2 separate regions of the Homo sapiens genome follow, and region 2 is linked to region 1. The links are contacts of gene promoters, found by promoter capture Hi-C in blood cells and fetal thymus (Javierre and others, 2016). All regions are on one chromosome and are shown on one strand. Each heading gives the region's core, a stretch centred on a gene start or on the middle of the fragment in contact. The rest is flanking DNA. Distances are from core to core; before and after follow the strand shown.

Evidence for each region. Contacts are between HindIII fragments. The CHiCAGO score rates a contact against its expected background, and 5 or more counts as called.
Region 2: a contact is called between the fragment with the promoter of PATE4 here and the fragment with the promoter of PATE2 in region 1, in 7 of 17 cell types (monocytes, neutrophils, activated CD4 T cells and 4 more). The highest score is 7.2, in monocytes.

The regions. Positions count from the first base shown.
Region 1 is chr11:125,775,174-125,781,866 of GRCh38, forward strand. PATE2 (prostate and testis expressed 2) reads right to left here and starts at 3,655. Exons shown (of 4, transcript NM_212555.3): 1 at 3,549-3,655; 2 at 3,379-3,402; 3 at 2,701-2,829; 4 at 940-2,345. The coding sequence starts at 3,600. The coding sequence ends at 2,209. The HindIII fragment of the contact is 7,529 bases long and covers 1-6,693 here.
Region 2 is chr11:125,829,506-125,836,198 of GRCh38, forward strand. PATE4 (prostate and testis expressed 4) reads left to right here and starts at 3,811. Exons shown (of 3, transcript NM_001144874.1): 1 at 3,811-3,912. The coding sequence starts at 3,855. The HindIII fragment of the contact is 876 bases long and covers 3,777-4,652 here.

The sequences.
Region 1 (6,693 bases), core at 2,405-4,904:
ACAAAATTGGAATCAGAGTACACATGTTCCCAGACTTACAATGATTTGACTTACAAGTTTTTTAAACTTTAAGATGTGTGAAAGCAATAAGCATTCAGTAGAAGCCATACTTTAGTACCCATACAAGCATTCTGTTTTTTACTTTCAGTAGAGTAGTCAATAAATTACATGAAATACTCAATTACATGAGATACTCAAAGCCAATTATAAAATTGGCTTTGTGTTAGATGCTTTTGCCCAACTATAGGCTAATGTAAACATCCTGAGCACATTTAAGGTAGGCTAGGCTAAGCTATGATGTTTGGAAGGTTAAGTGTTTTAAATGCATTTTCAGTTCACAGTATTTTCAACTTGCAATTGTTATAACAGGATATAACCCCATCATAAGTTGAGGAGCATCTGTATGTAGCCTTTTCAGACTGGCTTCATTAACTTAGCAATATTCATTTAAAAATGTATCCATGTCCTTTCATAGCTTGATAGATCATTTCTTTTCATCATTGAGTAGCATCCCACTGTTTGGATGTACCATAGATTACATATCCATTCACTTATTGATGGGCATCTTTATTGCTTCTAGTCTCAGGCAATTATGAATAAATATGATTTTAACATTTGTGTGCAGGTTTCTGTGTGGGCATAACTGTTCAAATTGGTTGAGTAAATATCTAAAGGCATGATTACTGAATGACATAGCAAGAGTATAATCACCTCTCTAAGAAACTACCAACTGTCTTCCAAAACAGCATTACCATTTTGCATTCCTGCCAGCAATAAATGAGATTTCCTATTGCTCTATATCTTTGACAAAAATTGCTACTGTGAGGGTTTTTTATTTTTTTGATTTTGACCATTTAAAATGTATAGTTGCGTAATATTGTTGTTTTAATTTGCAATTCCCTAGTGAGATATGATGTTAAGCATATTTTCATATGCTCATTTACTATCTGTATATCTTTTTCTATTCAGATTTTTTGGCCAATTTTTCTGGCCTTTATTTATTTATTTATTTTTTTATTTTACTTTAAGTTCTGGGATACATGAAAGAAAGTGCAGCATGCAGGTTTGTTACATAGGTATACATGTGCCATGGTGGTTTGCTGCACCCATCAACCCGTCATCTAGGGTGCAGTCAGCCTTATAAGGACAGAAACACCAGGGTTAGTGTGTATCCAAGGAAAATGTGCCACCTTGGCCACAGGTGTGCTCCAACATCAATGCTACTCAGTTTCTCTTCCTATCTGTTTCTGTGTCTTCCTTCTTCTCTTCCCACCACTGTTACCCATATATGCTACCTTTCTCACACTTTCTGCAAACTCATAACTTCCTCTTACACAGGGCACTCTGTTACTTGAACACTACCTCATGGTATCTATTTACATCCTATTATCTTCAACTACTACACCACCTGCCACATTATCAGCATTTTGTTTGCTCAGTCCCATGAGAAGAACCTGACTAGCCATCCTTAAAAAAACACTCTGTTCCCAATCCAATCACCTAGTTCAACCATGTGCCCAAGGCTGCCTGGCCAGCCAGGGCAATGATAATTCAAGCCAATTCCACCCACAGCAAGTTATTTCTCAGATCTTAGTTTTTACCAGTTGAAATGCCCCCTGAAGTTTTCTTTGATGCTCATCCCTATGTCTGTTCAGTTTTTTTTTTTCTGCCCTGAGGTTCCCCCAAGAGCTCTATCAGAGAAAGACTTGGCCCATGCTGCCAACACACTGGGAAGCTGGGGTTAGCCCTCTCCAGAACCCACGGGCAGAAAAGGACAGTGCCAGAAAGTGTCAGGGCTAATCCAAAGAGAATTCCAACGGAGAGGAGTGTGTGTGTAGATGAGGATAGAGGATAGTCACAGAATTCTCAGTACAAATTGGAGATTATTATGGCCCAAGTGTTCACATTTTCATACAGGAGATAATAAATGACCAAGTCTGAGCTTATTCATGGCAGTATCACGTAAGGAGAGCAAAACCCCTCCCACCTGTTAGCGACAGGGATGTGCAAAGAGTGAGTCTAGTGCTCCATCATCAATAGGCTCCGCTGTCCACACTGCGTCTCCTTATGCCTGCTTGTCTTTTCACTATGAGCTGGCTTTCTCACTCTCTACCAATGCATAGAAGAGGAGAGCAAAATTCAGGTTCAGGGAAGAGAAAAAGAGCGTAGTGGTTGAAAAAGAACCCAAAATCCAGGAGAGACGTAGAACTAAACTCCCTCAGGGAGGTTGCAGTAGTTACTATGATCACAACAGATGAGCTCTACCCTCTTCGTGAACCCCAGGAAGTTGATGTCCTCACAGCTGGTCATACACGACAGTTTTGAATAATGATACATGCTCTGCCCTGAGGAGGTAAAAGAGAGGAAATATGATCATAATGACCTCATTTCCTTTTACTGCGTTCCTAGGAGTAATCTGTTTTTGTGTCCTCACTAACCTTTCTCTAGGCCCAAATGAGTTCCAAAGCTGAGTCTGTTAATTGCTGACCCAGAGAGTAGATTTTATTCCCTGCCAGGTAAGGGACATCAGCCTCTTTTTCACTCAATATGGTCTTAGGGAAAAGTCTGTCTTTGCCATCCCCTCAAGACCACCCCATACTCACCCATCCCATTCACCTACTCACGCTGAGGGCAAAAGAACACTACTGTTTCTCAGGGATGGTGGTGGTGATTTTCCAGTCACTCTATACTCCACATTACCTTTCCTTGTAAGGATGTAAAAGTTCTCAACTGCACAGGACTGTTTATGCTTCAGGGAGCAGGATGTCATGACACCATAGCATAACCCAAGATGATATTTTTTACATTCATAACACATTATTTCAGTCGCTGCCAGATACAAAAAGAGGTGCTTAGAGGATGCAGTCTTGAGAATATTCTCTGGGGCTGGGGGCTTCACTACAGGACCTTATTCTTGCCTAGTGGTTCCTAACATTTTTTGGACCATGGACTCTTGGTAATCTTGAGAAAGATAGGGATAATCATGCTGCGGTCCTCCCCATGTACACATTAATAAATTTGTACACATTTTCTCCAATTAAAAAAATCTTGTGAAAGATAACCTGTACAAACATAAATCAAACACTGTATATGATTTCAGGAGGTCAGGGTTCCCATGAAATTTATCCATGGACCTCCAGTAATGAACCCCTTATCTAGCCTGATGATTTTGCCGAGTAATGGGTAAAAGAAAGTAAAGTGGATCTTAGCCTCCTTACTCTAAGAAATGGACAAAACAGGTCTGGCAGGAGGCGAAACCCCTAGGATTCTATAATAAGAATGGATTACAGGCCTCTCTGAAGATGAAGGAAAGGTTTGCTCCTAAACATGTCACAAATTGCCTGTTTACCAAGGACTTCAGAGAAGCCATGATTGTACCTTTTATAGGGTCATGAAGTTCACCTGTGAAAAGAAGAAAAACCTTCCATGTTACAGTCTCACATACATCTGCCACTGCCCCAAGAGCCAATTTTGAAAACTTTCTCTTCCCCCAGCATCTGTCCGTCTCTTAACCAACCACCAGCTTCCCCTCTGTCTCCAGGACTTACCCCAATATGGGCAGAGCAGAAAGACTGTGCCCAGGAGAAAGAGAACAAGCATCCTGGAGCTTCTGTCAGGTGCAGCTTCCTGTGGAAGGAGCAAGTTGTTCTCTTGTGATCTGTCCTTGGGCTAGTCATCTAAATTATATAATCATAAAATTTCAGGGACAGGCAGTATGGCAATGTTCCAAGCCAAACCACCATATCTGATTGCTGCACAGCATTCTAAAGAGGGTACTCACTTTGATTTTGTGCAAATCCTCTAATGAAAATGAAATGGTAATGTTCCTGATTCACCAGACCTGCTCCTACTTCAATATTGCAGAGTTTTAAAAAGTATTTTCAACTTTCATTTTAGATTCAGGGGGTACATGTGCAGGGTTGTTACAGGGGTATATGGCTTGATGCTGAGGTTTGGGGTACGAATGATCCCGTCACCCAGGTAGTGAACATAGCACCCAACAGTTATTCAGTCCTGCCCAGTCTCTCCTCACAATGTTGCAGGTTTTAATACATCTGGGAGGTGTTCTTTACATCTTCTTGTGTTTCATCCTCATTGAGCAATCTAACAGCAAGTCTTATCCATTCTACCTACTAACTTCTCACATGGGTTTATTATTCTCTGTCGCCACTGCCATTACCATAATCCAGTCTATTATGTCTTGCCTGGACCAAGCAATGGCCTTATTTCTGGCCTCCATGCTTCTCCTCTGCCCCTTCATAATCATTTCTTCATAAAGCAGTCAGAGAACAAGTCATAGATGCCACACCCCTGCTGAAAACACTCTGACGACTTTTTATTACCTTTGAAAGAAAATCCAGAGTTTTTATCATAGCCGGCAATGGCTTTGTCATTATGAGCAATGGCCTCCCCTCCAATCTCCTTTCTCTCCACATTTCCCTGGCTCACTCAGGTCTTTGCTCAAATGTCACTCCCTCAGACAGAGCAGCATTTTCTGCTTAATCTCTAGAAAATGACAGCCTTCATTTCCTACCTTTTTCCCTGTGGTATGTTTCATTGCAATTCTAATAAGCTGATCTTACATTGCTATTGGCTCACTTTTTTACTCCTCCACTAGAACAAAGCAAGGGGTTTCTTTGGTTTATCATGGCACACTTGGCATCTAGAGGCTGGGAACAAAGGAAATGCCCAACAAATATTTGTGGGAGGAATTAATAATGTTCTTCCCATATCCTGCCTTGCATCCCTCCAGTCCATTCTCCACAGAGCATCCAGCTTTATCAGACTGGTTTTTTGAACTATAATAAAGACAAGAAATGAGACTTTCTACATTCCAGCAAGGGTCCCAAGATAGTAGGTAGCAAGTGTTTCACATTTCAAAGTGAAATGCTATGCTACTTAGGCAGATTTACAAAGAAAATCAATGAAACCGTGTTTAATATCCTGGACTTGCTGCCCACCTGGAGGGTATAAATGAACAGTGAAGTGCCAGAAAATAAAATGGAAGGAGTTTCTATAGTCTAGTGTGAGGGTTACTTTTCTATATATGGCTCAAAAAACAGAACCATAAAAAAGATATGTTTATCTATATTTTTAAAAAATCTTCTACATAGATGGAAAACCAATCATTAATCCATAAGCAAAGACCAAATAACAAATAAACCATTAAAAATATTTGCAACTCATATCTCAGACTAAGGGCGAATCTCCCTATTATACAAAGATATTCCAGAAATTGATTTTTAAAAGATTAACAATTCAAAGGGGAGAGACGCAGTCAATAATAATGTCATAGTTCACAGAAAAAAGAAACAGAAATGCTTCTTAAACACATGAAATATGGTGAACCTTGCTCCTAATTTTAGGATATTAGTTTTACTTAACAGATTTGCAATAATCAGAATTTAGTAACACAACTGTGTTGGCAAGATGGAGTAAAATGAGCACTGTCATACATTGCTGATGGGGCTGTAACTTAATATATCAGTAAGGAATAAAATTAGACAATAGCTCGTCAATTTTATATCTTTCCTGCTTTCTCTTGTGGGCATTTAGTGCTATAAATTTCCCTCTACACACTGCTTTAAATGTGTCCCAGAGATTCTGGTATGTTGTGTCTTTGTTCTCATTCATTTCAAAGAACATCTTTATTTCTGCCTTCATTTCGTTATGTACCCAGTAGTCATTCAGGAGCAGCTTGTTCAGTTTCCTTGTAGTTGAGTGGTTTTGAGTGAGTTTCTTAATCCTGAGTTCTAGTTTGATTGCACTGTGGTCTGAGAGACAGTTTGATATAACTTCTGTTCTTTTACATTTGCTGAGGAGTGCTTTACTTCCAACTATGTGGTCAATTTTGGAATAAGCGTGATGTGGTGCTGAGAAGAATGTATATTCTGTTGATTTGGGGTGGAGAGTTCTGTAGATGTCTATTAGGTGTGCTTGGTGCAGAGCTGAGTTCAAGTCCTGGATATCCTTGTTAACCTTCTGTCTCATTGATCTGTCTAATGTTGACAGTGGGGTGTTAAAGTCTCCCATTATTATTGTGTGGGAGTCTAAGTCTCTTTGTAGGTCTCTAAGGACTTGCTTTATGAATCTGGGTGCTCCTGTATTGGGTGCTTAAATATTTAGGATAGTTATCTCTTCTTGTTGAATTGATCCCTTTACCATTATGTAATGGCCTTCTTTGTCTCTTGATCTTTGTTGGTTTAAAGTCTGTTTTATCAGAGACTAGAATTGCAACCCCTGCCTTTTTTTGTTTTCCTTTTGCTTGGTAGATCTTTCTCCATCCTTTTATTTTGAGCCTACATGTGTCTCTGCTCGTGAGATGGGTCTCCTGAATACAGCACACAGATGGGTCTTGACTCTTTATCCAATTTGCCAGTCTGTGTCTTTTAATTGGAGCATTTAGCCCATTTACATTTAAGGTTAATATTGTATGTGTACATCACAATTGAAAGAACTAGGGAAGCAAGAGCAAACACATTCAAAAGCTAGCAGAAGGCAAGAAATAACTAAGATCAGAGCAGAACTGAAGGAGATAGAGACATAAAAAACCCTTTAAAAAATCAATGAATCCAGGAGCTGGTTTTTTGAAAAGATCAACAAAATTCATAGACCACTAGCAAGACTAATAAAGAAGAAAAGAGGGAAGAATCAAATAGACGCAATAAAAAATGATAAAGGGGATATCACCAC
Region 2 (6,693 bases), core at 2,561-5,060, 54 kb after region 1:
ATTAGCACTTTGGGAGGCCGAGGTGGGTGGATCACCTGGGGTCAGGAGTTTGAGACAAGCCTGGCCAATGTGGCAAAACCCTGTCTGTATTAAAAATACAAAAATTAGCTGGGCATGGTGGCAGGCACCTATAATCTCAGCCACTCAGGAGGCTGAGGCAAGAAAATCTCCTGAACCCGGTGGGTGGAGGTTGCAGTGAGTCAAGATTGCACCACTTCACTCCAGCCTGGGCGAAAGAGCAAAACTCCATCTCAAAGAAAAAGAAAAAGAAAAAACAACCCTTGCCCAAGCCTTAAACTGGGGAAATTTTTTTCAGTATTGGAGTAAGCTGTATCAGTACACCTCATATTACATAAAACTCTCTGGAAACCTTTGAATTCTGAGATTCATATGTCATCCCATTTTATAAGTCATTGTCCTAATGACGAATAAACACTCTTTCACTTAGTATGTATAAGAAATTTCCAGGGAACCAGAAATCTGATAGTATTGCTGTATTAGGCCATTTTGCATTACTATAAAGAAATACTTGAGGCTAGTTAATTTATAAAGAAAAGAGGTTTTATTTTGGCTCATGGTTCTGCAGGCTGTAATGAAACATAGTGCCAGCATCCACTTCTGGAGAAGCCTCAGAAAGCTTACAATCATGGAAGAAGGCAAAGGGGGAGCCAGCACATCACAGGGCAAGAGAGGGAGCTGGAGAAAGGGAGGGGAGGTTCCAGGCTCTCTTAAACAACCGGGTCTCACATGAACTCATAGAGTAAGAATTCACTTATTTCCACAAGGTCAACATCAAGCCATTCATGAGGGATCCTCTCCCATGACCTAATGCCTCCTACCAGACCTAACCTCTAACATTGGGAATCACACTTCAACATGAGATTTGTAGGGGACAAATATCCAAACAATATCATTCTGTCCCTGGCCCCTCAAATCTCATGTCCTTCTCACATTGCAAAATACAATCATCTATTCCCAACAGTTTCCCAAAGTCTTAATTTTTCCAGCATCACTCAAAAATGTAAAGTCCAAAGTTTCATCTGATTCTCAAAGCAATTTCCTTCAATCTATGAGTTTATAAAATCAAACACAAGCTATTTACTTCCAAGATACAATGGTGGTACAGGCATTGAGTAAACATTCCCATTCCAAAAGGGAAAAACCAGCCAAAAGAAAAGGACAAGAGGCCCATCCAAGTCTGAAATCCAGCAAGGCAGTCATTAAATTTAAAAGTTCCAGAATAATTTCCTTTGGCTCCATGTCCCATATCCTGGGCATACTGATGTGAGAGGTGGGTTTGAGGCCTTGGGAAGATCTGCCCCTGTGGTTTTGCAAGGTGCAGCCTCTATGGCTATTCTCACAGATTGGAGTTGAGTAGCTGTGGCTTTTCCAGGCTCAAGGTGCAAGCTGCCAGTGGCTCTACCATTCTGGGGTCTGGAGGGTGGTGGCCCCTTTCCACAGCTCCACTAGGCTGCTCTCCAGTCGAGACTCTTGTGGGGGCTCCAATACCACATTTTCCCTTGGCACTGTCCTCGTAGATCCTCTCTGTGGGGGCTGTACCCTTGAAGCAGGCTTCTTCCTGAGCACCCAGACTTTTCCATACATCCTCTGTAATTGAGGTGGAAGCTGCCAAGCCTCCTTCACTCTTGCATTCTGCACACCTGCAGGCTTAGCACCATGTGGAAGCTGCCAAAGCTTATAGCTTGAACCTTTCAGAGCAATGGCCCAAGCTGTACCAGAGCCCCTTTGAGATGAAGCTGGAGCTGGAGTGGCCAGGATGTGAAAGCAGTGTCCCAAGGCTGCACAGGGCAGAAGGGCCCTGGGCCTGGCCCCTGAAAACATTCTTTCCTCCTAGGCCTCTGAGCTTGTGATAAGAGGGGCTGCCTTGAAGATTTCTGAAATGTCTTCATGGCCTTTTTCCCATTGTCTTGGATATTATTAGCCGAGAGCTGTTATCCAATAATATATTATTACATAATAATAGCTATTATTGGATAACAGCTCTTGGCTCCCTTTTAGTCATGCAAATATATCTAGCAAGTAGTTCCTCCATAGGCCACTGGAATTCCTCTCCTGAAAACATTCATTCCTTCTCTGCCACATAAGAATTTTCCAAATTTTTATGCTCTACTTATCATTTTTTTGTTTTGTTTTGTTTTGTTTTTTGACAGAGTCTCACTCTGTCACCAGGCTGGAGTGCAGTGGTGTGATCTCAGCTCACTGCAACCTCCAACTCCTGGGTTCAAGTGATTATCCTGCCTCAGCCTCCCGAGTAGCTGGGACTACAGGTGTGCACCACACCCAGCTAATTTTTGTATTTTTAGTAGAGATGGGGTTTCACTATGTTGGCCAGAATGGTCTCAATCTCTTGACCTCATGATCCGCCCTCCTTGGCCTCCCAAAGTGCTGGGATTACAGGCTTGAGCCACTGTGCCCAGCCTCTACTTATCTTTTAAATGTAAGTTCCAACTTTAAGTTATTTCTTTCCTCCCATACATAATTGTGGGCTGTTAGAAGCAGCCATATCACATCCTGAACACTGTACTGCTTAGAAATGTCTTCTGCCAGATACCCTAGGTCATCATTCTTAAGTTCAGTCTTCCACAAATTCCCAGGCCGTGGACACAATGCAGCCAAGCTCTTTGCTAAGGCATAGCAATGGTGACCTTTGCTCCAGTTCCAAAGAGCTTCCTCATTTTTATCTGAGAACTCCTCAGCCTGGCCTTTGCTATCCATATTTCTATCAGTATTTTGGTCACAACCACGTAACAAGTTTCTAAGAAATTCCAACATTCCCCCATTTTCCTGTCTTCTAAGCCCTCTAAATTCTTCCAACCTCTGCCCATTACCCAGTTCCCAAGCTTCTTCAACATTTTCAGGTATCTTTATAGCAACACCCCACTTCTCAGTATCGATTTTCTGTTAGTGCATTTTTGCATCGCTATAAAGATATACCAGAGACTAGGTAATTTGTAAAGAAGAGAGATTTAATTAGCTCACAGTTCTGCAGGCTGTACAGGAGGCATGGTGCTGGCATCTGCTCCTGGTGAGGGCCTCAGGGAGCTTGCAATCATGGTGGAAGGCAAAAAAGGAGTTGGTGTATTACATGGCAAGAATGAGAGCAAGAGAGAGAAGGGAACAACAGAGAGAAGGGAAGGGGAGGTTCCACACTCTTTTAAACAACCAGCTCTCGCTTGAACTACCAGAGCAAGAACTCACTCATTACAATGAGGATGGCACCAAGCAATTCATGAGGGATCTGCCCCCATGACTCAAACAGCTCCCACCATGCCCCACCTCCAACTTTATGGATTACATTTCAACATGAGATTTGGAGGGGACAATCAAACCGTAACAATCACACACACACACACACGCAGACACATAGAGAAAAAAGGGTGAGTAGCGACTGTAGTCCCAGCTACACTGGAGGTTGAAGCAGGAGGATCGTGTAAACCAAAAAGTTTGAGGCTGCAATGAGCCCCTGCACTCCAGCCTGGGCAACAGAGTGAGACCCTGTCTCTTAAAAAAAAAAAGTGAGGAGAAGACAGATATGGGGCAGGGAAGGCAGAGGGAGGATGGAGAGTCAGGGGTGGAAATCTAATTCAACTTTAGCCAGAAGCATTCCCTGACACTGCTCACCAGCCTGCACTTTCCACATTAGTACAGATTTATGGCTCCTTAAGAGAAGGGAGTGGGGAAAGGACGGTTCTGCCTCATGCCTTTATCAGGGACTCCTCCCTCCTTTCTATTTACTGGCTGTGATCGAACATCTAAGCTTTATAAAGCAAGCTAGTGGCTGCCCTTTCCAATACCTCACTCAGCACACCGTCTGTCACCCAAACAAGCATCCAATGAGGAAAATGAACACACTGCTCCTTGTGAGCTTATCTTTTCTCTACCTCAAAGAGGGTAAGTTTGAACAATGGGGGTGGAGGGAGGCAACTTAGGGGTGCTGTTCTCTAAACCTCTACTCTCCAAGTCTCACTCACATGCTCCAGCTGAGACCCAAAGACTCAGTACAATCTGAGTTTCAGGATGTCAGAGAGATCATATATAACACACTAATCCGGAAGAAAATGTACTACTGATTGCAGGGAAACAGGACAATTTTCCAACTTCATATTAATTGACTTTTCATCCATACTTATCTCATTTTGGACCCTTTCTTTCTTAATATACTTTTCTCCTTTATTATCTCCTACACTCTCCTAGTTTTCCTTTCCTCTGGCTACTTCTCAGTGTATTTTGTAGGATTCTTTATTCTACCTGATCATTAAACACTGGGATACCTTAAGGCTTTATACTATCCACTCAGACCCTCCTCTATATCAACTTACCCACTTCCATGGCTTCAATTACAATCTATATGCTGAAAATGCCCAGTTTTATATCCTAGCCAGATTTCTATTCTGAGCTTCAGTCTTTCATCAACAAACACCTCCTACACTTGGAAGTCACCCTTGAAATCTCCCTCTCCCTTAACACTCACTAAAAATTAGTGAATGATTCCTATGCTTTCTACCTATTAAATGTGCTTCAAATATGATTATATTTCTACCTTATATTTCTATTTTGCTACCTTTTGACACTTAGTAAGAAATAATAAACCATAAAAGAATTATAAGAAAATGTGACATAATTTGTTTGTAAGCTTAGAAATGAGAAAGACCTTTCTAACTATGACTCAAAATCCAGAGCTCTTAAAAGAAAAACTGACAAATTTGACACATGAATATCAAAATATTCCTCATGGCAAAAATTAAAAATGCAACTCACATCAAACAAATGGCTAATATCCCTGATATGTAATGCCTCCTTTAAAAAAATCAAAAAGGAAAAGGCCAACAACCTAATAGAAAAATGGGCAAAGTATGTAGATAGTTCACACAAAAGAAAATGAAAATGGCTATTAAACATATAAAAAGTGCTCAATCTCACTCATACTAAGAAAAATGCAAATTAAAAGAACACTGATACACCATTTTTGACCTATCAGATTGTCAACATCCAGGAGTTTGATAAAATATTTGAGTATTAAAGTTGTGGTGAGACAAGAATTTTCCAAGCATTGATAGCAACAGAATAGTTACATCTCCTCTGGTGGGCAATTCAGCAATACCTATCAAAATTACAAAAGTGTTTACTTTTTATCCAGCAATTCTGCTTGCATGAAATTATCTTATAGATATACTCCCACACAAATGAAATATGTTCAGCATTATTTATTGCAGCAGATAATATCAAAAAGTGCAAATAACTTAAATTCTCATAAGAGACTGGTTAATTAAAGCATGGTACAGCACTACAGTGGAATACTATACACTTAGTATACATTATTCAAAAAATCAAAGTGCAGAGTATGCATAGTATACTACCAATTATGAAAAGGGGGTAAAAAGATACATGTGCATATTTATATTTGCTTGAATATACTGAAAATCAATCTAAAAGATATAAAAGAAATGAATAAAACTGGTTTCCTTTATTTGGCAGATGAAAACTGGATAACTAGCTGGCAAGAGTGGGAGATCAACTTTACACAACATTCTTTTTCTATTACTTACTATTTAGTCACATCAATGTATTACCTATTTTTAAATAATGCATTTTTAGAATGTTGAAATTGGAAATACTCAGGTTAAAGATCAAAGAGACAATTATTCGAAGAGCATTATCAGTGTACTGCGCAGCCTGCTCCCAACTCCTCTGAAAGAGAGAAGCCTCATGAAAGTTGCTTCAGGGAGAAATTGATAGTGTCCTCTGGTGTTTGGAAGGCACAGTGAGCTTGAGGAACCCAAAGGTGCGAGGGAGCCGGAGGGTACAGCCCTGAAATGGTGGAACTGAAAGACAGCTGAGTTGCATTACATACAAGCAGGGAGGATGTGCATACATTCCCCTGGATCTGATCTGGGCCATGCCATATCAAGCAAGTCAGGCTTGAGCTGTTTAAAGTTCTATCCAAGAGCGCTGTCTGGAGGAAAAAGGTATTCTAGCAAGGTGTGGGCCACTACCTTCTTACAGCTGAGAGAAAATATAACCACCAGCTGCAGGAAATACACCACTCACGATACAGCAGTGGACTTGAATATTTTTTGTGGGGGAAATCCTGAAGAACCCGCAAATGTTCTCCTGACTCAAGGAACTCAAGAAAATGAGTTCTCCTGGCTCAAGAAAATGAGTCAGCTTTCATTAAATACAAAGTCCAAGAGATTGGGTTTTAAGTAACTACCATAGACAAAAGATGACGGCACCAGAGCCAGTCCGATGACATCTTTCCTGTCCTTTACCTGTCCCCCTCCTTCTCACCAACTGAAATGGGTCAGAAACTATCACTCATAAGCCAGAGGTGAGTAGGAGGAAACCAAGAAGAGAAATAGAGAAAAAGTTAAAGCCACCCCCTCCTGCCCATTACAAACACCTAAGCAAGCCTGAGCTATGTGTCTGTGCATACGTGTGTGTGGGTGGGTGGGTGTGCATGGGCATGCATACAGGGAGAGCGGGTTGTTGGTGAGAAACGTGGGCTTTTAATAGAGCTATTTTATTATTATTGCATGGCACTCAATGCATAAATTACTGAACCCAGATTATTCTTATGCCCGAAAGTGATGGCAAGACTTTTTTTTTTTTTTTTCTAAAAGTACATAGACAAGTTAGGAGCCTTGCCTGAAATTACCTGCAGGACTAGGAGAA